Regions from separate parts of the Homo sapiens genome. Here all the other regions are linked to region 4. Evidence: promoter capture Hi-C in human tissues and cell types (Jung and others, 2019). All regions are on one chromosome and are shown on one strand. The core of a region is centred on a gene start or on the middle of the fragment in contact, and the rest is flanking DNA. Distances in the headings are between cores, read along the strand shown.

The links. The method cuts DNA at HindIII sites, captures the fragments that hold promoters and counts their contacts. A contact is called where the count stands out against the background at its distance.
Region 1: a contact is called between the fragment with the promoter of SCARF1 here and the fragment with the promoter of TSR1 in region 4, in 5 of the 25 tissues and cell types used here (aorta, heart right ventricle, hippocampus and 2 more).
Region 2: a contact is called between the fragment with the promoter of SLC43A2 here and the fragment with the promoter of TSR1 in region 4, in 2 of the 25 tissues and cell types used here (H1 embryonic stem cells and small bowel).
Region 3: the fragment with the promoter of SERPINF2 here is called in contact with the fragment with the promoter of TSR1 in region 4 in 1 of the 25 tissues and cell types used here (dorsolateral prefrontal cortex).

What each region holds. Positions count from the first base shown.
Region 1 is chr17:1,643,415-1,648,459 of GRCh38, forward strand. SCARF1 (scavenger receptor class F member 1) reads right to left here and starts at 2,318. Exons shown (of 11, transcript NM_003693.4): 1 at 2,183-2,318; 2 at 1,764-1,825; 3 at 1,420-1,521; 4 at 28-553. The coding sequence starts at 2,283. It overlaps RILP (Rab interacting lysosomal protein), which reads right to left. Exons shown (of 8, transcript NM_031430.3): 5 at 4,936-5,045; 6 at 4,421-4,543; 7 at 3,492-3,575; 8 at 2,736-3,205. The coding sequence ends at 3,028. The HindIII fragment of the contact is 19,188 bases long and covers 1-5,045 here.
Region 2 is chr17:1,626,925-1,631,819 of GRCh38, forward strand. It overlaps SLC43A2 (solute carrier family 43 member 2), which reads right to left and starts at 1,910. Exons shown (of 14, transcript NM_152346.3): 1 at 1,870-1,910; 2 at 791-996. The coding sequence starts at 950. RefSeq lists enhancers at 83-620, 621-1,158. The HindIII fragment of the contact is 9,222 bases long and covers 1-4,895 here.
Region 3 is chr17:1,739,544-1,744,566 of GRCh38, forward strand. SERPINF2 (serpin family F member 2) reads left to right here and starts at 3,328. Exons shown (of 10, transcript NM_000934.4): 1 at 3,328-3,365. The HindIII fragment of the contact is 23,738 bases long and covers 1-5,023 here.
Region 4 is chr17:2,334,649-2,339,794 of GRCh38, forward strand. It overlaps TSR1 (TSR1 ribosome maturation factor), which reads right to left and starts at 1,809. Exons shown (of 15, transcript NM_018128.5): 1 at 1,683-1,809; 2 at 1,389-1,492; 3 at 863-1,082; 4 at 612-746; 5 at 1-248. The coding sequence starts at 1,779. It overlaps SGSM2 (small G protein signaling modulator 2), which reads left to right and starts at 2,853. Exons shown (of 24, transcript NM_014853.3): 1 at 2,853-3,097. The coding sequence starts at 3,041. RefSeq lists an enhancer at 1,977-2,086 and silencers at 2,317-2,446, 2,477-2,786, 2,887-2,996, 3,097-3,196, 3,227-3,536. The HindIII fragment of the contact is 7,910 bases long and covers 1-5,146 here.

The DNA of each region.
Region 1 (5,045 bases), core at 1,068-3,567, 690 kb before region 4:
CCACCTGTCCCCGCCCCGCCCGCTCACCTGTGTGCGCACTGCACCCCGTGGCTGCCTGCCGGGCAGGGCAGCTCGCAGCGCGCTCCGCGGAAGCCGGGCGGGCAGGTGCACTCGCCGGAGGCGGCGCTGCAGCGGCCCCGCACACACTCGCACTGCTGCTGGCATTCGGGACCCCACCAGCCCGGCCGGCAGGCGCAGCGGCCGGAGTCCTGCTCGCACGGGGAGCCGTGGCAGTTGCAGCGGAAGCTGCAGCGGCGCCCCCACCAGCCCGGCTTGCACACGCAGGCGCCCGTGGCCTGCTCGCAGCGCGCCGCCGCGGTGTTGCACTGGCACGGGCGGCGGCACGTGGACGACCACCAGCCGGGTTCGCAGTGGCACACGCCGGTCGCGGGGTCGCAGCGCCCGTGGGGGCCGCAGGCGCACGGGAACTCGCAGCGGGCTCCCCAGCGGTCGGCCTGGCACTGGCACGCGCCCGTGGCTGGCTCGCACTGGCCGTGCGGGTGGCAGGGGCAGCTCTCACGGCAGTCGGGGCCCCAGTACTGGCCCGGGCAGCCTGCGGGGGTGGGGACGGGAGGGGTCAGCGGGCTCAGGGCCGCGCGCAGACCCTTACCCTGCGTCCCCTTCCTCAAGGAAAAGGGGCGCTGGGCCCATCCTCCAAGAGCCGGGGACAGACCCTCAGAACATCCGGCAGCCTGTCCTGGGCAACACTCACTTCCTGCTCCGCTCTGACCTACAGAAAACCCTTAGCCATTAGTGGGAGGCTCAGCCTGCCACTTCACATTCCAGAACACACTCAGAGATCCTGAGTGGGCAGGGGACTTGCCCAGAGCGTGGCACCGAGGTTGGTGGGCCTTCCTCCATGCCTGCTCCTCCCTGCCGAGATGGATCTCTGCTGGGCTGGAGGAGAGCTGGCTTTCTCCTGATCTCAGGCCTGGATACTGCCCGCCAGGGTGTCGGGAGAAGCCACCTTTCCCCTAGTGATTCCTTGATTCCTGATGCCCACCCTCTGGCTCTCCTGCTTCCCAACCCCTTTCCCTTCCCTCTCTTTCTGCCAGAGAGGGCAGAGAGCCCAGCCAGGGGCCCCCTTCCATCCACTGCCCATGTATAAGGTATATGTGGGAAAGGCAAGTAATACACTCATTTTACAATGAAGGGGAATCACAGGTTTTCTGAGAAGTGGAAGAGGAAGATGCTCAGGTGGGCAGTGCTTTGTGGATGTGGGTAAAAACCCGGTGACTCAGGTCATCTCCCGGGAGTGTGTGTCACTTCCTGTCTCTGGACCGCAATTCCTCAGTGAAGCTGGGGGGGATTCTGGCCCTGCTGTCCTGAGGCTGCATGGCTACCTGCCTCGCCTGCTCCCACACCACTGCCCCCGTACCCAGCTCTGCCCAGCAACTTCATCTGGCCCTTGAGACTCACGGGAGCTGCAGTGGGCCCCAAAGAATCCAGGCTTGCATCGACAGAGGCCCGGCTTCACACACACCTCGTCTTTCTGGCAGGCGTCCGGCCCCTCACAGATGGCTGAAAGACACCCCACCCAGGTTGGAAAGACGGGAGCAGGACCAGGGGACACCCCTGCCCTCTCACTGGCTCCAGGGGCCATGCCTCCTCAAGAGGTGCCCCTTCAGGCCTGGGGGTGCGTCACAGGAGAAACCCTGACTCCTGGTATCAGGAGGGGCAGGCCCCATGGGGTAGGAAGGAAGGGTTGTCACTGGGCTACGGCCTCCCTTCTCCTTGGCTGAGGGTCTGTCCTGGCTACTCACGGATGGTGCATTCTTGATCCTTCTGCCTCCAGCCTGCGCAGCACTGCAGCTCAGCAGAGGGGCTGTGGGGCAAAAAGGGGTCAGCCGGACATGGTGGGGGGTGCAGCCTGGCCCTGAGGAAGGTGGATCACTGTCTCTGGCTGCAGTGGGGGAGGCTGCCTTAGCCCCCTGGGGAGGCCTAATGGATCTTTACAGCTAGGGTCCCCAGCCCCTCCCCTCTCCTTCCCTGACCCTTCCACCATCTGCCCTGGCTGGCCACTACCTGCCAGACCGCCATCAGCAGTCCCTTCCTTTCAGCCTAAGCCCCCTTCCTAGTCTCCTCCTTCCCCTAACGGCCTCAACACCGGTTCAGCCACCCGCATCAGACTCCCACGAGACCCACCTGCTGGCCACACGCATCAGACTCCCACGAGACCCACCTGCTGGCCACACAGACGTGCTGCCCTTTGGGGTCCAGCTCGGACCCCTGAGTCCCCCGAGTCCAGAGCAGCAGCAGCGGGAGCAGCAGCCCCAGCCCCATGGCAGGCAGCTCGGTGGGAGCGCTCGGGTTCGTCTGGCCCCCACAGCTCCCAACCCCCTCCCTGCTTCCTCTCAGGGCTTTTCCTGAGGAAACCAGGCCGGAGGGGCGGGCTGCCACGAGGCACCTCCCTGAGAGGGAGGGGGTGGCTGGAAAGACTGACACTCAAAAAAAGAAAGGGAAAGAAAGGCAATGGCAGGGCTGACTGGCCTGGGCCTGGAAGGGCCAGAAGAATGAAGTTGCAGGTCCCTGGGTGCCGGGGCCAGGGAAGGGGGTGGACTGAGGCTGGGAGCCACGGCTTTCCATCAGGCCACACTCCCAAAGCAAGGCCTGAGCTGCAAGAAGCCACCCCACCCAGTGACTGAGCAAGGAGACCAGCGAGGACCCCTCAGCCTGCCTCTGCTCCTGGCAGGGTTGGGAGGTGGCACAGACATGGACAGACAGGCGAGGAACAGTTTCTGTGTATTACGGGCAGTTCTTTATTACATGAGCTCAGGCCGTCTGCACAAAGCCCTGGGAGCTAGGCAGTCAGCTCTCATTTCATGGATGGGGAAACTGAGACTCAGAGAGGCACTCTTATATCTGGCCCCAGAGGCTCGGTACAGAGACGTAGAGAGGGAGGCGGGCTGAGACCCCGTCCTGCCCTGATGCAGGCCAGGATTGGGGCAGACCCCTGGCGAGGGCTGTGAAGGCGGGAGCCCTGTCCTCATTTGAGGCCACACATCCTTCCACAGCCAGACCCCTAAGTCAGGCCTCTGGGGCGGCTGAGGCCCCCAGACAAAGGTGTTCGTGGAGGGCAGAACAGGGCGGATCAGGAGCTGGAGACTGTGGTTGGGCCTCCTCTTCTCCCCCTAGCTTGCTGGGTGCAGGGCTGCTGGTCTCATCCTCAGAGGATTCAGCTTTACCCCGATACCATAGGCCAAAGCTGGAGAGAGACAGCCAGAGGCACTTTGAGCCAGGAAGCCAGAGAGGTCAAGGATATGGGTGAGGGCAGGGGATGGTGAGAAAAGGGGAGAGGGGGAAGAAAGGGCAGCCTGAGGGAGTGTGAAGGTGATGGGGGCCAGGGCCAGAGAAGCAGGAGGGGACGGTGTGCTTAGAGCCAAGCACAGCAGGGTGACGGGCAGAGAAGCGGGAAAGGGGATCCTGAGAAGGACCAGCCAGGGCCCTTCCTCCCTCCCCACACTCTTGCCTTTCCCCTTTCCCCAACATACAAACTCTGTATTTTGGACTCCGGGGGTGGGGGATGGTCTCCCTTGTCATCGGAGAGCAGGATCCATGGGCCAGCCTCATCCTCACTGAGACAGAGGAGAGAGGAGAAGTGAGGGCCATTGATCAAGGCCCTGAGGGACAACAGGAATCCAGCAGGGGGGATGGAGGGACTGCAGGGCCCCCGGGGCTGGAGAGAAGGCAACCCTGGGGAGATGCAGGATGTCGAGCCTTTAATTTTTAATTTTTTTTTTTTTGAGACAGGGTCTCACTCTGTCGCCCAGGCTGGAGTGCAGTGGTGCGATCTCAGCTCACTGCAACCTCCGCCTCCCAAGTTCAAGCGATTCTCCTGCCGCAGCCTCCTGAGTAGCTGGGATTATAGGCACATGCCACCATGCCCGGCTAATTTTTGTATTTTTAGTAGAGACGGAGTTTCACCATGTTGGCCACGCTGGTCTCGAACTCCTGACCTCAGGTGATCTACCCACCTTAGCCTCTCAAAGTGCTGGGATTACAGGCGTGAGCCACCGCGCCCTGCCAAGGGTTTATTTTATAGCTTGACACACAGCAGGCCCTGACACAGCCGCGGCTACAGTTTCACCCCCGTAAGAATAAACAGACCCAGCCAAGACAGGAACTTGAAGAATGAATGTGGAGAGGCAGTGTTGTCAGGCAGAATGGATGGCAGGCAAGGCAAGGGGAGTGGTGAGATCCAGGGAGAAGGGCGCAGGCTGGACAGCGGCCATGGGACACAGCCAGAGCAGGTCAGCAGGCCCTAGAAGCGGCCAGGCTAGGGAGGCTCAAGGGGTGACCGGGTTGGGGTGACAGCCTCAGTCTGAGACAATGGGCTCAGAGGGTGACCAGGCTGGGTCATCAGGCTCAGCAGAATGAGGGAGGGAGGCCTGGCTCCGTGGGAATGCAGGCAGGGACCTACCTGCTCTCTGCTTCCTCTGGTGTCCCTAACATCTTGGCCTTGATCTTCTTCCGCTGCTTCCGGACAGCCACCTTCATGGCCTCGAGCAGAAGGCCGGGGACCCGGTGGTCTGTGAGCAGCTCCCTAAAGAAAAGGGGCAGGGAGGGAGAAAGCCCTGGTGATGCCAGCCATGGGGATGCCAGCAGTGGAGATGCCAGCCGCAGTCCTCACTCCTGGTACCTGTGCACGCAGCTCTTCCCTGAACACGGGAAGCGCTCTGCCTTGCTGACACCCTCAGACCTTAAATTAGGTGGCCCCGTGGCCCCCTCCTAGGAGAGATTCCCTGGCTGCTGCAGCTGCAACCCTTTGTACTGTCCCTCTCCCCTGTCTGGATGACATTGCAGGAGGGCAAGGGCTGTACAATTCATGTCCTCCCAGTTCCCAGCGCAGGCCTGGCACATGTCACTGTGGACATGTCAATGACTGGAGAATGAGGTGGGGTGATCGGAGGCCCCCCGGCTTCCCAGCGTCCTCACCGCTGGAAGTAGGCCAGTTCCTCCTTGAGCAGGAACACTTTGGCTTTGAGTTCATTCCGCTCCTGAAGGATCTGCTCAAACTCCTCCCGACTGAAGCGGCACTGCCCTGC
Region 2 (4,895 bases), core at 660-3,159, 710 kb before region 4:
CTGTAGTCATCAGGACCCTCCAACAGGGTATGAAGGTGTGAAGGTAAGTGTGTGTTGGGTGGTGCAGATGTCATGTAGAGAAGCATCCTCAGCCTGCCTTCAGCAATTCCAGTGACAAGGCAAAGAGGAGAGAACAACCCTAGCATCATTTCCATAAACGTTCCTTTCTTCTCTTCCCCTTCATCCCCATGGGGTTGGAAAGCCACGGAGATGTCCTCAGAGCCCGTGGGGGAAATGTCCTTTGGAGAATCATAAGGCAGCAAAAATAGACAAGAAATTGTGTCCAGCAAGCACTTAGGAGACTCCACAATGGCCTGAGGAACGTCTAGATTCTAGATGAGCCCTCCCTGGGGTGGAGGCAAGGCCACTTCCTCTCCTGCTGCACCCCAGCCCCTTAATCTGGAGTTCCTCTTTCTCACAAGCAGACAGCAACATGTTTACTACCAGCCAAGCTATGTTCCAGGGCTGGGAGGAGAGGAGAGCAGTCCAGCACTGTTCGTAGCGGGTGGAAGGAACACCCTGGACAGCAGGTGGGGTTCTGGGTGGATGGCAGGCCCAGGCTCTGCGGCCTTGCGCAAGACAGATCGCTCTGAGCCTCGATGTCTTCGTCCACAAAACAGGGGCAATGACAAGTACCCGGCAGGGCTGGGTGAGGATCAGATGGGCCTTCTGATACCCTAGAGGCACTGGGCAATGCGGTGCTGTGGCTCGCTAGGTCTTCGCCCCCATCCCGCCCCCTCCCAAAGCCCCAGCTCCAGGAGCCCCCCGCAACCCCAGGCGCTTGTCTCACCTGGCTCGGTACACAGGTAGGAGTAAAAGCCCTCTGACTTGAGCATGATGAGCAGCGAGCCCCAGCCCAGGAGGACTGCCGAGAAGAGGAGGTTCTCCAGCACGGCCGTGCAGGCCATCCACCAGCGGCGCCGATGGGCAGTGGCCAGGGTGGGCGCCATGGTGCGGCGCGGCGCGGCTCCGGCTCCGGCTCCGGCTCTGCACCACCTGCGCACAGAACTCGGCGTCAGCGGCCGGCCCTTGCCCAGCCCCTGCGGCCGCCCCCAGCAGCCCCGACCGCTGCCGCAGGGCTCGGGATTGCCACCCCTCCCCGGCCGCGGCGGCCGGTGCGCGCAGCAGAGGAAGCGAACCCCAGCCCTGCCCGGACCTGGGACACCCCGAGCCCGCGGCCGGCTCGTACCGCTGCCCTCCGCTACGACAGAGCCGCCCCGGCCAGGCAGGGAGACGTCTCCCGCAGCTCACTCCGAGGTAAACTGAGGCATGGAGGCAAGAAGGGGCTAACGCATGCTCAGGGCCGTGGAACTAGTCCTGGCCTGCAGCAGGACTGACATCGCCTGGGGCCAGCATGGAACGCAGCGTGAGGTGGGCAGGGGCAGATCCGAGGGCTGCCTCTCCCAGGGACCCTGACAGGTGCCCTCCCGCCCGCGCCCGAGACCCTTCCCCAGAGCTGGTTTCTTCAACCACAAGATCAGCGCCCAGACCTACGGAACGGCCCGCCCCGGCGCGCTCATTGGCCGGACGGCGCAGGAACTGCCGCGCCATTGGCCGCCGTCTAGGTCGCTAGGCGCTGCGGCCACGCGAACCCAGCGTGGGAGACGAGGAGCCGGTTCAAACCGGTGGCGCGAGCCAGCCGCGCGACCCCCATCTCGGGCGTTCCCCCGGCAACTCGCCCGTTTCCATGGCCTCGGACCCCCGCGCCTCCATTCCCCAGCCCGCATCTGTTCGTCATCTCTTCCCTGGCGGCCCCTCATCGCTCCATCTCTCTCCTCGTTCCCACGTTTTCTCCCTACGCCCCTTCGGCGGCCGCTTCTGCCCCCGCGCCCTCGCCCCGGCCGCGATCCCCTCCCTGCTGCAGCTCACCCGGCTCCTCCGGCGTGTGTCGGGCCCGCCCGGCGCCTTTTCTGCCCTCTTTTATTCCAGCCCTTTTATTCCGACCCCAAGAAGAAAACACTGCCGCCCGCTGATTGGCTGAGCGGGGCTGGAAACAGGCGTCGACCAATCAGCAGCCAGCCCCCCGCCCGCCCCGCCGCGAGCAGAAGCCGGTTCCGGCCGGACTCGGAGACAAACAAGAGAGATGGGGGACGGGAGGGGCCTGGGCGCTGCGGGCCGGGCCTCGGCTTTGCAGCCTTCAACCCGAGTCACAGCGCGGCCGGGAATCCCCGGCGACATCGCCCCGCGGCCTCTCCAGCGGCCTGACCCTGCGAGGCTGGGGCTCCGGCTCCGCGTCCCGGCCCCCAGCGGACTCCCCCCAGAAGCCGCCGGGCCACCAGCGCCCCCAGCCGGGCTCTCCCGCGGCCGCCCCGCCGTCCCCAGCTGCCCCCTGCGCGCGGGTCACCACGCCCAGATGCGCCGGCTCCGCACGGTGGTTCCACTCTCGAATCCCCACCCCGCCTCCTCCCCACGCAGCGCCGCCGTCCCCGCCGCCTCGGGCTTTGGGTCCTGGTTCCTCGCTCCCCCGCCCCGGTGGTTCCCGTCCCGGCGTATTCGGGGCCTGGGATCCCGGACCCGGTCCAGCCGTGGCGCCCCCCGCTGATGCACCGACCCCTTCCCCTCTCCCCGGTGGCGTCTGCCCGGTCCCTGGAAGTTGGCCCTTGGAAATCTGCAAGGGGATTTGGGGCTGGTCTGTCCCGTCCTAGGATGGGGTCTCCTGAGCTCCCCCCATCAGACTGACCTTTCTCCGCCCGTGTTCACGCACTGCTCGGTCCTCCGGGGACCCTCCACCCTTGATCGTCATCTGGGTGCTCCCTGCCCGCGCTGGCCACCTTCACCCCGTTCCCCGTCCCTTTCAGGGAAGGTCCCCTCTGCAGGGCGATGCTACGGGCCACGTCCGCCAGCTGGTACAAGCTAGGGAGGGTTCGAGGGGGCTCCGGGTCCCCGTCTGATAAGCCCGGGCTCCGAAAGCTCAGCTCCCCGTCTTCGTCCCCCGGATTCGAGGCACTAACCCGACCCGGGAAGACCCTCTGACTGCCCCAGAATCGCCTTGGTCACCCTGGCTCGCTCCGGGGGGCTGGCTTAGCACCCCAGGGCTGCCGCGCGGTGTCCACGTCTGGAATCCCAGCGGTTTGGGAGGCTAAGGTCGGAGGGCCACTTGGGGACAGGAGTTTGAGACCAGCCTGGGCAGCATGGCGAGAACCATCTCTACCAAAATAAAAACCAAAAATAAAACCCCACCACCACCCCAGGGCTGTGGGAGCCCCAAACGCCTCTTGCTCCACCTGCCCCAGTCCGAGTGTGCCCCCTACTGTCTAGAATCCGCCCGGGCCACCTGGCGAGGGCAACCTCCCCCAGACAACGCTTGGAGCTGTCAGCCTGCTGGGGGGCGGCTCCAGCTGGTAGCCTACCCGGTTCCTCACCCTGTGGAACCCTTCCCACTCCCAAGGTTTCAACTGCCATCTGAAAAATCTCTTTCTTCACCCTTCCCTCCTCTTTGAGCAGCCTGACGGCGCTGCAGGGCTCAAACATGCCTCAAATATCCCCCAGAACTGTCCTCCACATTTTCTCTCAGATAACCATACTACTACTGTCTACTGAAGTTAGATACCAAGAACCCTGTCTTTTTTCTTTTTCTTTTTTTTTTTTTTTTTTTGAGACAGGATCTCAGGCACCCAGACTGCTGGAGTGTGGTGGCATGATCATAGCTCACTGCAGCCTCGACCTCCTGGGCTTAGGTGATCCTCCTGCCTCAGCCTCCCAAGTAGCTGGGACCACAGGTGCATGCTACCACACTTGGCTAATTTTTGTATTTTTTGTACAGATAGGGTCTTGCCCTGTTGCCCAGGCTGGTCTTGAAGTCTTGGGCTCAAGTGATCCTCCCACCTCAGCCTCCCAAAGTGCAGGGATTACAGGCATGACTCACAGTGCCCTGCTGAGAACCATCCTTTCATCAGACATTTGTTAGGCAGTCGCTGTGATTCTGCCTCTCCCTCACCGCATCCCCATCAAACTGATACAGCTGTATCTCCTACATATTTACCTAATCGGTCCATCTGTGCCCTTAGGCCCGCAACTACTGTTGTTGAGCCACCTTCAGATTTCAGTTCCTCAAATCCAGCCCCCATCTCATCCCAGGGCACTAAGGGAAATGTAAATGTGACTTCTGCCAAAATCCTTCAGAAACTATTATTTGTAAAACAGGATAAAGTTCCAGTTCCTGGCTGGGCACGGTGGCTCACACCTGTAATACCAGCACTTCGGGAGGCTGAGGCGGGCAGATCACTTGAGGTCAGGAGTTAAAGACCAGCCTGGCCAACATGGTGAAACCCTGTCTCTACTAAAAATACAAAAATGGCTGGGCGCGGTGGCTCACGCCTGTAATCCCAGCACTTTGGGAGGCCGAGGTGGGCAGATCACAAGATCAGGAGTACGATACCAGTCTGGCCAAGATGGTGAAACCCTGTCTCTACTAAAGAAACAAAAAATTAGCTGGGTGTGGTGGCGCACACCTGTAATCCCGGCTACTCTGGAGGCTGAGGCAGGAGAATCACTTGAACCTGGGAGGCGGAAGTTGAAGTGAGCCGAGATCGTGCCACTGCACTCCAGCCTGGGCAACAAGAGCGAAACTTTGTCTGAAAAGAAAAAAAAAAAAAAAGATCTGGGTGATGTGGCACACGCCTGTAATCCCAGCTACCTGGGAGGCTGAGGCAGGAGAATTGCTTGAGCTGGGGAGGCAGAGGTTGCGGTGAGCAGAGATTGTGCCACTGTACTCCAGCCTGGGCAACAAAGCGAGACTCCGTCTCAAAAAAATAAACAAAATTTAAAAGTTCCAGTTCCCCAATTTGACCCACACAGGCTCCTCCCTCTCCCTCCCTCTGAAGGACATCTGACCTGCCTGGTCCCCGATGCTCCAGTCACATGGAATTGCCTGTGGTTTCTGCACCTGCTGTTCT
Region 3 (5,023 bases), core at 2,078-4,577, 590 kb before region 4:
ATGCAGGGAGTGAGGCGCAGGACAGTGAGGGTGGGAAGGAGCCTGATGCAGGGAGTGAGGCGCAGGACAGTGAGGGTGGGAAGGAGCCTGATGCAGGGAGTGAGGAGCAGGACAGTGAGGGTGGGAAGTGGCCTGATGCAGGGAGTGAGGCGCAGGACAGTGAGGGTGGGAGGCGGCCTGATGCAGGGAGTGAGGCGCAGGACAGTGAGGGTGGGAAGGAGCCTGATGCAGGGAGTGAGGCGCAGGACAGTGAGGGTGGGAAGGGGCCTGATGCAGGGAGTGAGGCGCAGGACAGTGAGGGTGGGAAGGAGCCTGATGCAGGGAGTGAGGAGCCGGACAGTGAGGGTGGGAAGGAGCCTGATGCAGGGAGTGAGGAGCAGGACAGTGAGGGTGGGAGGTGGCCTGATGCAGGGAGTGAGGAGCCGGACAGTGAGGGTGGGAAGGAGCCTGATGCAGGGAGTGAGGCGCAGGACAGTGAGGGTGGGAGGCGGCCTGATGCAGGGAGTGAGGCGCAGGACAGTGAGGGTGGGAAGGAGCCTGATGCAGGGAGTGAGGAGCAGGACAGTGAGGGTGGGAGGCGGCCTGATGCAGGGAGTGAGGCGCAGGACAGTGAGGGTGGGAAGGAGCCTGATGCAGGGAGTGAGGCGCAGGACAGTGAGGGTGGGAAGGAGCCTGATGCAGGGAGTGAGGCACAGGACAGTGAGGGTGGGAAGTGGCCTGATGCAGGGAGTGAGGCGCAGGACAGTGAGGGTGGGAAGGAGCCTGATGCAGGGAGTGAGGAGCCGGACAGTGAGGGTGGGAAGGAGCCTGATGCAGGGAGTGAGGCGCAGGACAGTGAGGGTGGGAAGGGGCCTGATGCAGGGAGTGAGGCGCAGGACAGTGAGGGTGGGAAGGAGCCTGATGCAGGGAGTGAGGAGCAGGACAGTGAGGGTGGGAGGCGGCCTGATGCAGGGAGTGAGGAGCCGGACAGTGAGGGTGGGAAGGAGCCTGATGCAGGGAGTGAGGAGCCGGACAGTGAGGGTGGGAAGGAGCCTGATGCAGGGAGTGAGGCGCAGGACAGTGAGGGTGGGAGGCGGCCTGATGCAGGGAGTGAGGCGCAGGACAGTGAGGGTGGGAAGGAGCCTGATGCAGGGAGTGAGGAGCAGGACAGTCAGGGTGGGAGGCGGCCTGATGCAGGGAGTGAGGCGCAGGACAGTGAGGGTGGGAAGGAGCCTGATGCAGGGAGTGAGGCGCAGGACAGTGAGGGTGGGAAGGAGCCTGATGCAGGGAGTGAGGCGCAGGACAGTGAGGGTGGGAAGTGGCCTGATGCAGGGAGTGAGGCGCAGGACAGTGAGGGTGGGAAGTGGCCTGATGCAGGGAGTGAGGCGCAGGACAGTGAGGGTGGGAAGGGGCCTGATGCAGGGAGTGAGGCGCAGGACAGTGAGGGTGGGAAGGGGCCTGATGCAGGGAGTGAGGAGCCGGACAGTGAGGGTGGGAAGGAGCCTGATGCAGGGAGTGAGGCGCAGGACAGTGAGGGTGGGAAGGGGCCTGATGCAGGGAGTGAGGCGCAGGACAGTGAGGGTGGGAAGGGGCCTGATGCAGGGAGTGAGGAGCCGGACACTGAGGGTGGGAAGGAGCCTGATGCAGGGAGTGAGGCGCAGGACAGTGAGGGTGGGAAGGGGCCTGATGCAGGGAGTGAGGCGCAGGACAGTGAGGGTGGGAAGGGGCCTGATGCAGGGAGTGAGGAGCCGGACAGTGAGGGTGGGAAGGAGCCTGATGCAGGGAGTGAGGCGCAGGACAGTGAAGGTGGGAAGGGGCCTGATGCAGGGAGTGAGGCGCAAGACAGTGAGGGTGGGAAGGAGCCTGATGCAGGGAGTGAGGCGCAGGACAGTGAGGGTGGGAAGGAGCCTGATGCAGGGAGTGAGGAGCAGGACAGTGAAGGTGGGAAGGAGCCTGATGCAGGGAGTGAGGAGCCGGACAGTGAGGGTGGGAAGGAGCCTGATGCAGGGAGTGAGGAGCTGGACAGTGAGGATGGGAAGGAGCCTGATGCAGGGAGTGAGGAGCAGGACAGTGAGGGTGGGAAGTGGCCTGATGCAGGGAGTGAGGCGCAGGACAGTGAGGGTGGGAAGGAGCCTGATGCAGGGAGTGAGGAGCAGGACAGTGAGGGTGGGAGGCGGCCTGATGCAGGGAGTGAGGAGCCGGACAGTGAGGGTGGGAGGCGGCCTGATGCAGGGAGTGAGGAGCAGGACAGTGAGGGTGGGAAGTGGCCCGATGCAGGGAGTGAGGCGCAGGACAGTGAGGGTGGGAAGGAGCCTGATGCAGGGAGTGAGGAGCCGGACAGTGAGGGTGGGAAGGAGCCTGATGCAGGGAGTGAGGAGCCGGACAGTGAGGGTGGGAAGGAGCCTGATGCAGGGAGTGAGGAGCAGGTGTGAGGGCGGGAAGCGGCCTGATGCAGGGAGTGAGGAGCAGGACAGTGAGGGTGGGAAGGGGCCTGATACAGGGAGTGAGGAGCAGGACAGTGAGGGTGGGAAGGAGCCTGATGCAGGGAGTGAGGAGCCGGACAGTGAGGGTGGGAAGCAGCCTGATCTTTGCACGGGCTGCCAGGCTTCTGGTTCATACAGCCCCAGGTCAGTTTCCAGAACCCTCGCTCTTGGGTAGGGGAAAGAGACATTGCTCTGGAGTGGCAGGACGGTGGGAGAAGTTGAGTCCCTCTCATTTCTCCTCCCTCACCCCCTGCCTTCCATCCCAGTCTGAAGGCAGCCAACCTGATCCTGGGCTTGGAAGGTTGGGGGTGGGCTTCCTATCCTGGGCTCTCTGCATAGGCTCTTGTGGCTTCCCCTTTCCTCCCCTCAGGAGCGGGAGGCAGCTCTCTGGGAGAAGAAAGGACATTGGGAGTGAGAATCTGGATGTGCCTCAGCCCAGCTCTGTGTCCTTGGGCAGGTCACATGGCCTCTCTGAGCCTGGCTGAACCAGGGATAATCCACACCTCGTGGGGTCTCTGGAAGGCTTAACACAGTGCTAGGTTCCTGTGCTTTCTGGATCCGCCCTCTTGGCTAGCCAGATCCAGTCTCTTCAACTCTCTCCTCCTGAACTTTCTCTTTCCAGGCTCGGGGGGGGGGACCCAAATATAGGGGGTTCTGCGTGGCTGCCTCAGGGTTAGATGCCCTGGTGGGAAAGGGGCTTCTGGCTTCAAGATCAATGTTTAACTGGATGTGCAAGTCAATATTTACCAGAAGAGAAAGCAATCTGAACAGGGGTTGGCTGAGAGTAAAGGTCCTGGTGGGAGGGGAGGGGTGGGCTGGGCCAGCTGGAGCCTGGGCAGAGAGTGAGGAGCACCCAAGTGGGGCCAGAGGAACGTTGTGTGTGGCAGCAAGGAGCCCGCAGAGGTATGAGGGGAGGGGCTGCTCGGCCTGCTCCTTGGGTAGGAGAGGAGGAGGGAGCTGCCTCCCTGGCTGAGGGGTCTGGGATTTATTCAGGAGGCCTGTCACTCCCCAGCCTCTTCTGGGACTTGAAAAACTGGAGCCTGTTCTTGGCAAGAAGATTCTAATGCCCAGGTCGGAGTCGGGGCCCTGGCCAAGGGCTCTTGTGTGGGATGGGGGTGGGGCCGGGGGGACCAAAGGATCCTCCAGAAGGGTTGGCCCCAAGATGGGGGTGGGCTGGAGGTAGCTGAGACCTGCTCTGACTTATCCTCCTGAGACCAACACCTGCCCTTCCCAGAGCCAGCCTGGAGCAGAGGCCTGTGATGCTCCTAAGTGCAGAGGTGGCTCTGGCCAGAGTCATTCACTGGGCTCTGCTGCTGGGTCAAAAGGCAGCTCTCTGGCTGCCTTGCCACCCATGGTGAGACCTCAGGGCCTCACAGGTATGTCCAGCCTTGTGGGCAAGACCTGACCAGCCTGAGAAAGACGGGTTGGGGCCAGGCGTGGTGGCTCATGCCTGTCATCCCAGCACTTTGGGAGGCTGAGGCAGGTGGATCACCTGAGGTCAGGAGTTCGAGACCAGCCTGACCAACATGGAGAAACCCTGTCTCTACTAAAAATACAAAATTAGCCAGGCATGGTGGCACATGCCTGTAATCCCAGCTACTCGGGAGGCTGAGGCAGGAGAATCGCTTTAACCCAGGAGGTGGAGGTTGCAGTGAGCCGAGATCGTGCCATTGCACTCCAGCCTGCATGATAAGAATGAAACTCCATCTCAAAAAAAAAAAAAAAAAAAAAAAAGACAGGCTAAATGGATGCAGCAGGCTGGGTAGGAGCTCTGTGTTGGAGCTCTGCGGTGGAGGCTTCAGGGCAGGCTTCCCAGAAGAGGTGGCCTTGAGCCAAGCTGACCCCAGCCATCGGGGGAGTGCCAAGCATTGTACTCAGGGTTTACAAAGATGGTCTTATTTATTTTTTTGAGACAGAGTCTTGCTCTGTCGCCCAGGCTGGAGTGCAGTGGCGTGATCTCGGCTCACTGCAACCTCCGCCTCCCGGGTTCAAGCAGTTCTCTGCCTCAGCCTCCCGAGTAGCTGGGATTACAGGGGCCCACCACCACGCCTGGCTAATTTTGTATTTTCAGTAGAGATGGGGTTTTACCATGTTGGCCAGGCTGGTCTTGAACTCCCGACCTCAGGTGATCCACCTGCCCCTGGCCTCCCAAAGTGCTGGGATTACAGGCTTGAGCCACCGTGCCTGGCCACAAAGATGGTCTTTTGCCGGGTGCAGTGGCTCATGCCTGTAATCCCAGTACTTTGGGAGGCCGAGGCAGGAGGATCACCTGAGGTCGGGAGTTTAAGACCAGCCTGACTAACACAGAGAAACCCCGTTTCTACTAAGAAATACAGAATTAGCCAGGCGTGGTGGTGCATGCCTGTAATCCCAGCTATTCGGGAGGCTGAAGCAGGAGAATCGCTTGAACCTGGGAGGTGGAGGTTGCGGTGAGCCGAGATCCTGCCACTGCACTCCAGCCTGGTCAACGAGAGCGAAACTCCGTCTCAAAAAATAAACAACAAAAAATCCCAAAAAGACGGTCTTATTTTGGTCCTCACCATGCATGTGAGAAGAGTGAG
Region 4 (5,146 bases), core at 559-3,058:
CAAGTTATTCTCTTCACTAGGAACAAAATCAACAGCATGGGCAAATAGGTAGGCCCGCCGATCTCGAAAAGCAAGATGCTGTTGCTTCTGGTTAGCCAACTGCCTAAGCAGCATCCCTGCCTCCTGTTGAGTGTCTAACAAGAGGAGTTTGTCATGCGGAAAGCGCTTCTCCACTGCTTTACTTAGCTTCTTCCTGGTATCTATTTGTTTCTTCAGTGGGAGGCCAGAAATCCCCTGGACAGCTAGTGCTGTAAGCGAAAGAGAAAACGCTTCATGACCTACTGCTTCATTACATAAAAATCCCTCTGCAGTTCACAAACAACCTAATAGCTCAGTTGCAAGCCCAGAGATCACTGGGAAGCCCAACACTGAACTACCCTGAAGGAATTTCACAGTGAAATCAAACTTCATATCCTTGTTTCTCTGGGCAAAGGACAGCCAAAAACAAAAAGACACCCTGAGTGATAATCTGTAAACAATGGATCAAGTTTAATCCATATGTGTACATCCCACCACCAGCTGAATATGATCCATCAGTTGTATTCCTGTATCAAATACCAGGCATAGTGCCTGACAAATTAAAGGTGCACAATAAATGCTAACTCACTTACTATAGGTCGGAAGGCCCTGAGCAAAGAGGCAGGAAAGACAGTAATCACCGGTGCTGTCCCAGCCTTCTAGTGGATCAAGGAGGAACAGGATGGTATCAGCTACTTTAGCCATGTCTAACACAACGTGCAGATCCCCTGCAGATAGAAGACACAGTAAGAAGAGGTGGTTGGCACCAGCACATTATTCTAAAAAAAAAAAAAAAAAATACCACTACTCAAACATAATACAAAATATTGGTGTATACTCTAACCTGGCCTTGCTGAGGTGAAAAACCACCGATGTTTCAAGCGGGGGCACAGCAGCATAAAGTTCTGGGTGTTTCCCAATTCATTCAAGTGTACTGTTCCAGTGTCCCTATCTTGAAGCAGCTGCATGGCCTCTGGCAGGGAAATTCTGCTGTGCAGGGGCACCACCAGTACCTGATGAGGAGGGCCATCCTTGCCACCCAGCTGTCTCTTCTCTGCCAGAACCTGAAAATAGAAAGATATCCGAGAACATCTCAGTGTCTCAGTACTTCACTCCAGCATTGCATTTCCACTCCCACAGATGCTCCCCCTACCCAAAACCAGCATCTCTCTAGTAAAAGACCACAGGTATGCCAGCGGGGTGGCAGGAATTCTGACCAAAGCAAAGAATGCTAGACCTGCACGCTCGACACGTGCTCTAGGGCTATGCTCTGTCCCTGGACCCTCCTCCCGGTCTCATTTTCCACTTCGAGGCATTAGCCACCTAGAACACCAGAGAAGCCGCATTCTCCCAAATCCCGCTCCTCTCACCGCCTCCTTCTTCTGCTTTCGGAGCTGGCTGGCGCGATGCCTCTGGTCGACTCTGCTGAGTTCTTTTCTCACCTTCTTGCTTAGGGTTTTCAGTGCCAGACGGCCTGAATGGCAGATTAGAAGGGGCTGGTGTGATCGGCCCCACAAGGTCAAGAAAAGGGACTCCTCTCCGCCCACCTTAGAAAGGGCCTTTCGCGTGGAGCCCAGACGGGAGACAGAAGCTCAGTCTGGGCATGAGGAAAAAGAGTTAATAACGGCCAAATAGCCCTTATTCCTTCTACGTTATCTCCTTACCCTTGCCGTCCCGCTGTGCAGATCCCCGACCCCGATGCCGTCCGCCTTTATGAGCTTTATTCTGCTGCTTGAGCGGGCCGGGGCGGTGGGCCGCCATGCCGCAGCGCGCGTGTACGGAGTCAGCACTGCTTCCGGGCCAGGACAAGCGCTTCCGGTCCCCTCCAAGGGGGCGGGCCCTCCAGGGAGCGGGACTCCCTGCGCCCTCTCGCGAAGGTCTTTTCCAGCAGCTCGTGAGAGCGCCGTGTTAGCGGGTTCGCCAAGCCGCGCTGGGAACTTTTCCCACTTCGCAGTGTGTGGTTGGGGGCTTGAAGGCGCCGGATGTAGACTGTCGAGGCTCGGGCTGTTGGTCTAGCAGGGCTGTTTGTACCCCTTGCATTGTCATTTTTTTGCGCTATAAAGCTGCATCACGTAGAAGCATGTTGACTGGAAGGCTCCATTCGTGCCGAAAAGGCCTAAGCCCTTCCTGTCACCTAGATTCGGGCACGTTGCTCTTCCGTTTGCAACGGCATGTTCTTTATCACTCTGAGCAACCTTTCTTCTCCCTCGATTCCCTAGCGAGGCTTGGGAATCGCGTGGAAGACACTTCTCTCACCTTGCCCGGTTCCGTACCAGCTCAAGCCCGTCCCTGTTACTCCAACCTGCGCCCCGCCTCCCACGGAGCGGCCGGGAAGGACCTTGTGGGACGTGGCGACCCGGCAAGGGGGACTGGCCGCGACCCTCCGGCCGTCGGGCTCGGGCGGCTGCGCTCCCACTAATCTTCCCAGAAACTTGACAACTGCACGGCGACGGCCGGACGGGGATTCAGAGGGGTCACGGGGCCAGGCTGCACCGGCTTCGCCGTGGGCAGGCTCGGACCGCAGGGGACCCCATGCCCGAGCCCCGGCCCTTTCCGTCCCGTCGGGAGAGGGAGCAGGCAGAAGTCAGGGGAGCTTCAGCGGGACCGAGGCTCGCTCTCAGCCGCGGGGCCGCGGGCTCCAGGGCCAGCGCTCACAATGCGGCTTCGCGCCCTCCATGCGGGAGCGGGTGCGTTGCCATGACAGCGACCCCCGTGGCGCGCGCCCGGGTCTGCCGCCCCTAGGCGCGCACGGCCTCTCCCCGCCCCGATCCCCCGTCGCTGTGCGCAACCCCCCTCCGGCTGTGGGAAGGGGCCGGGCCTGCCGCCTGACGTCTGTGCGGGGCTCGGAAGATGGCTGCGGAGCCGAGCACCGGGCAGTGGCTGCGGCGGCGGCGGCGGCGGCGGGCCGGGAGCGCGGCGGGCGGGGGCTCCGCCTTGCGCGTGGGGCGCTGAGCCGAGAGGCGCGGAGGCGGCGAGGGCGCGGGGGCTCTGAGGACCGCTCGGCGCCGCCTCCTGCCACACCATGGGCAGCGCAGAGGACGCAGTCAAAGAGAAACTGCTGTGGAACGTGAAGAAGGAGGTAAAGTCGAGTCAAGAACCCCGGGGGGCTCGCGCCCTGGCCCGCGCGGCCCAGGGGGCAGAAAGGTCCGCGCCCACCCCCCGGCGCGGGCACCCGGGCCGAACCTGGGCCGGGCGGGGCGGGTCCTGGACGGGCTGCGCCTCCTTCCCCTTTCTCGGATGGGGGAGGGCAGCGCCCCTCTGCCCGGGGGACCCGGCCGGCGCTCCCGGCTTGTTTGCTTCGCAGCCCCGCAGCTCCCCGCCCAGTGACGGCAGCGGCGCTGGGAGCCCAAGGCCGGGGGAGGGGTGGCGGCGATGGCGGGGATGGCTGGATCCGGAGCTGCCCATTCAGTGCCCGCGCCGCCAGGGGAGGGGGCGGGGCCCCGCGCGAGCTCCCGCGGCGCAGGTGGGTGTCGTGCGGGCCGAGCTTCCCCACGTCCTAAGTGGGTGTCGTGCGGGCTGAGCTCCCCCTTGTCCGACGTCCGCTGTGCCTCCAGCTACGGAGTGATCGCTGCCGGAGGGGTGCGCCGCACACCTCAGTTTCTCCCTCCACGCCCACCTCCTTAGCCAGGGACCAGGGGCTTGTTTGGAATGGTTTTTAACACTCGGAAGTTTTTCCCTTTTGAGGGAAGCCCCCCTACTTCAGAAAGAGAAGTAGTCCTTCCCTCTACTAACTCCGTTTACCTTGACCCTGCCCAAAAGCCCATTTCCATTTCGGGTGGGGGGCAGTGACCATGTGAATGACTCACTCCCATATGAGAGCTGGAGAGCTCCAACCCACAGCGCAGCTTAGAATACATTGGGCCTCCTTCCCCTGCCTGCCTCTGTGGCTGTTGTCTGCCTGGTAAGTAAACTCCACCAGGGCAGGAGACCCTCTGTTTTGTCCACTGCCTTGTATCCAGTGCCTGGCATACTGTAGGCACTCCGTGACTGTTTGGTAAATAAATGTGCTGATTTTGGAGACTTCGAGGCCTGGTGTTTGGAAAGCATACATTTTGGAATAGTCTGGACCTAATTCTGTGTGACCTTGAGTCTCTATGCCGTCTCCCTAATATATATATATATAACCTCACGCCTGTAATCCCAGCACGTTGGGAGGCCTAGGTGGGTGGATCACCTGAGCTCAGGAGTTCGAGATCAGCCTGGCCAATATAGTGAAACCCCGTCTCTACTAAAAATACCAAAATAAGCCAGGGGTGGTGGTGCGTGCCTGTAATCCCAGCTACCCGGGAGACTGAGGCAGGAGAATCGCTGGAACCTGGGAGGTGGAGATTGCAGTGAGCCGATATTGTGCCACTGCACTCCAGCCTGGGCGACAGAGTGAGACTCCGTCTCAAAAAAAAAAAAGTTTACCTTAGCTGAGCCGTAATTAGAGTTTCAGGGTTGGGGAAGCGTCTGGACTCTCATAACATCCTGGAAAGTGGACAGGCGCGGTGGCTTACGCCTGTAATCCCAGCACTTTGGGAGGCTGAGGCGGGTAGATCACGAGGTCAGGAGTTCCAGACCAGCCTGGCCAAGATGGTGAAACCCCATCTCTACTGAAAAAAACAAAAAATACAAAAATTAGCCAGGCACAGTGGTGGGCACCTGTAATCCCAGCTACTCGGGAGGCTGTGGCAGGAGAATCGCTTGAACCCAGGAGGTGTGGTTGCAGTGAGCCAAGATCGAACCACTGCAGTCTAGCCTGGGCGACAGAGCAACTCTCCGTCTAAAAAAGAAAGCTGGGCATGGTGGCTCACGACTGTAATCCTAGCACTTTGGGAGGCTGGGACGGGCGGATCACGAGGTCAGGAGATCGAGACCATCCTGGCTAACACGGTGAAACCTCTCTCTACAAAAAATTAGCTGGGCGTGGTGGCGGGCGAATGTAGTCCCAGCTACTTGGGAGGCAGGAGAATGGCATGAACCCGGGAGGCAGAGCTTGCAGTGAGCCCAGATCGTGCCACTGCACTCCAGCCTGGGCGACAGAGCAACACTCCATCTCAAAAAAAAAAAAAAAAAAAGTCCCGGAAATCTCTAGATGGTTCTCATGCGTTAGCCATGGCCTGGCTACTAGGCCCTAATGTTTGTT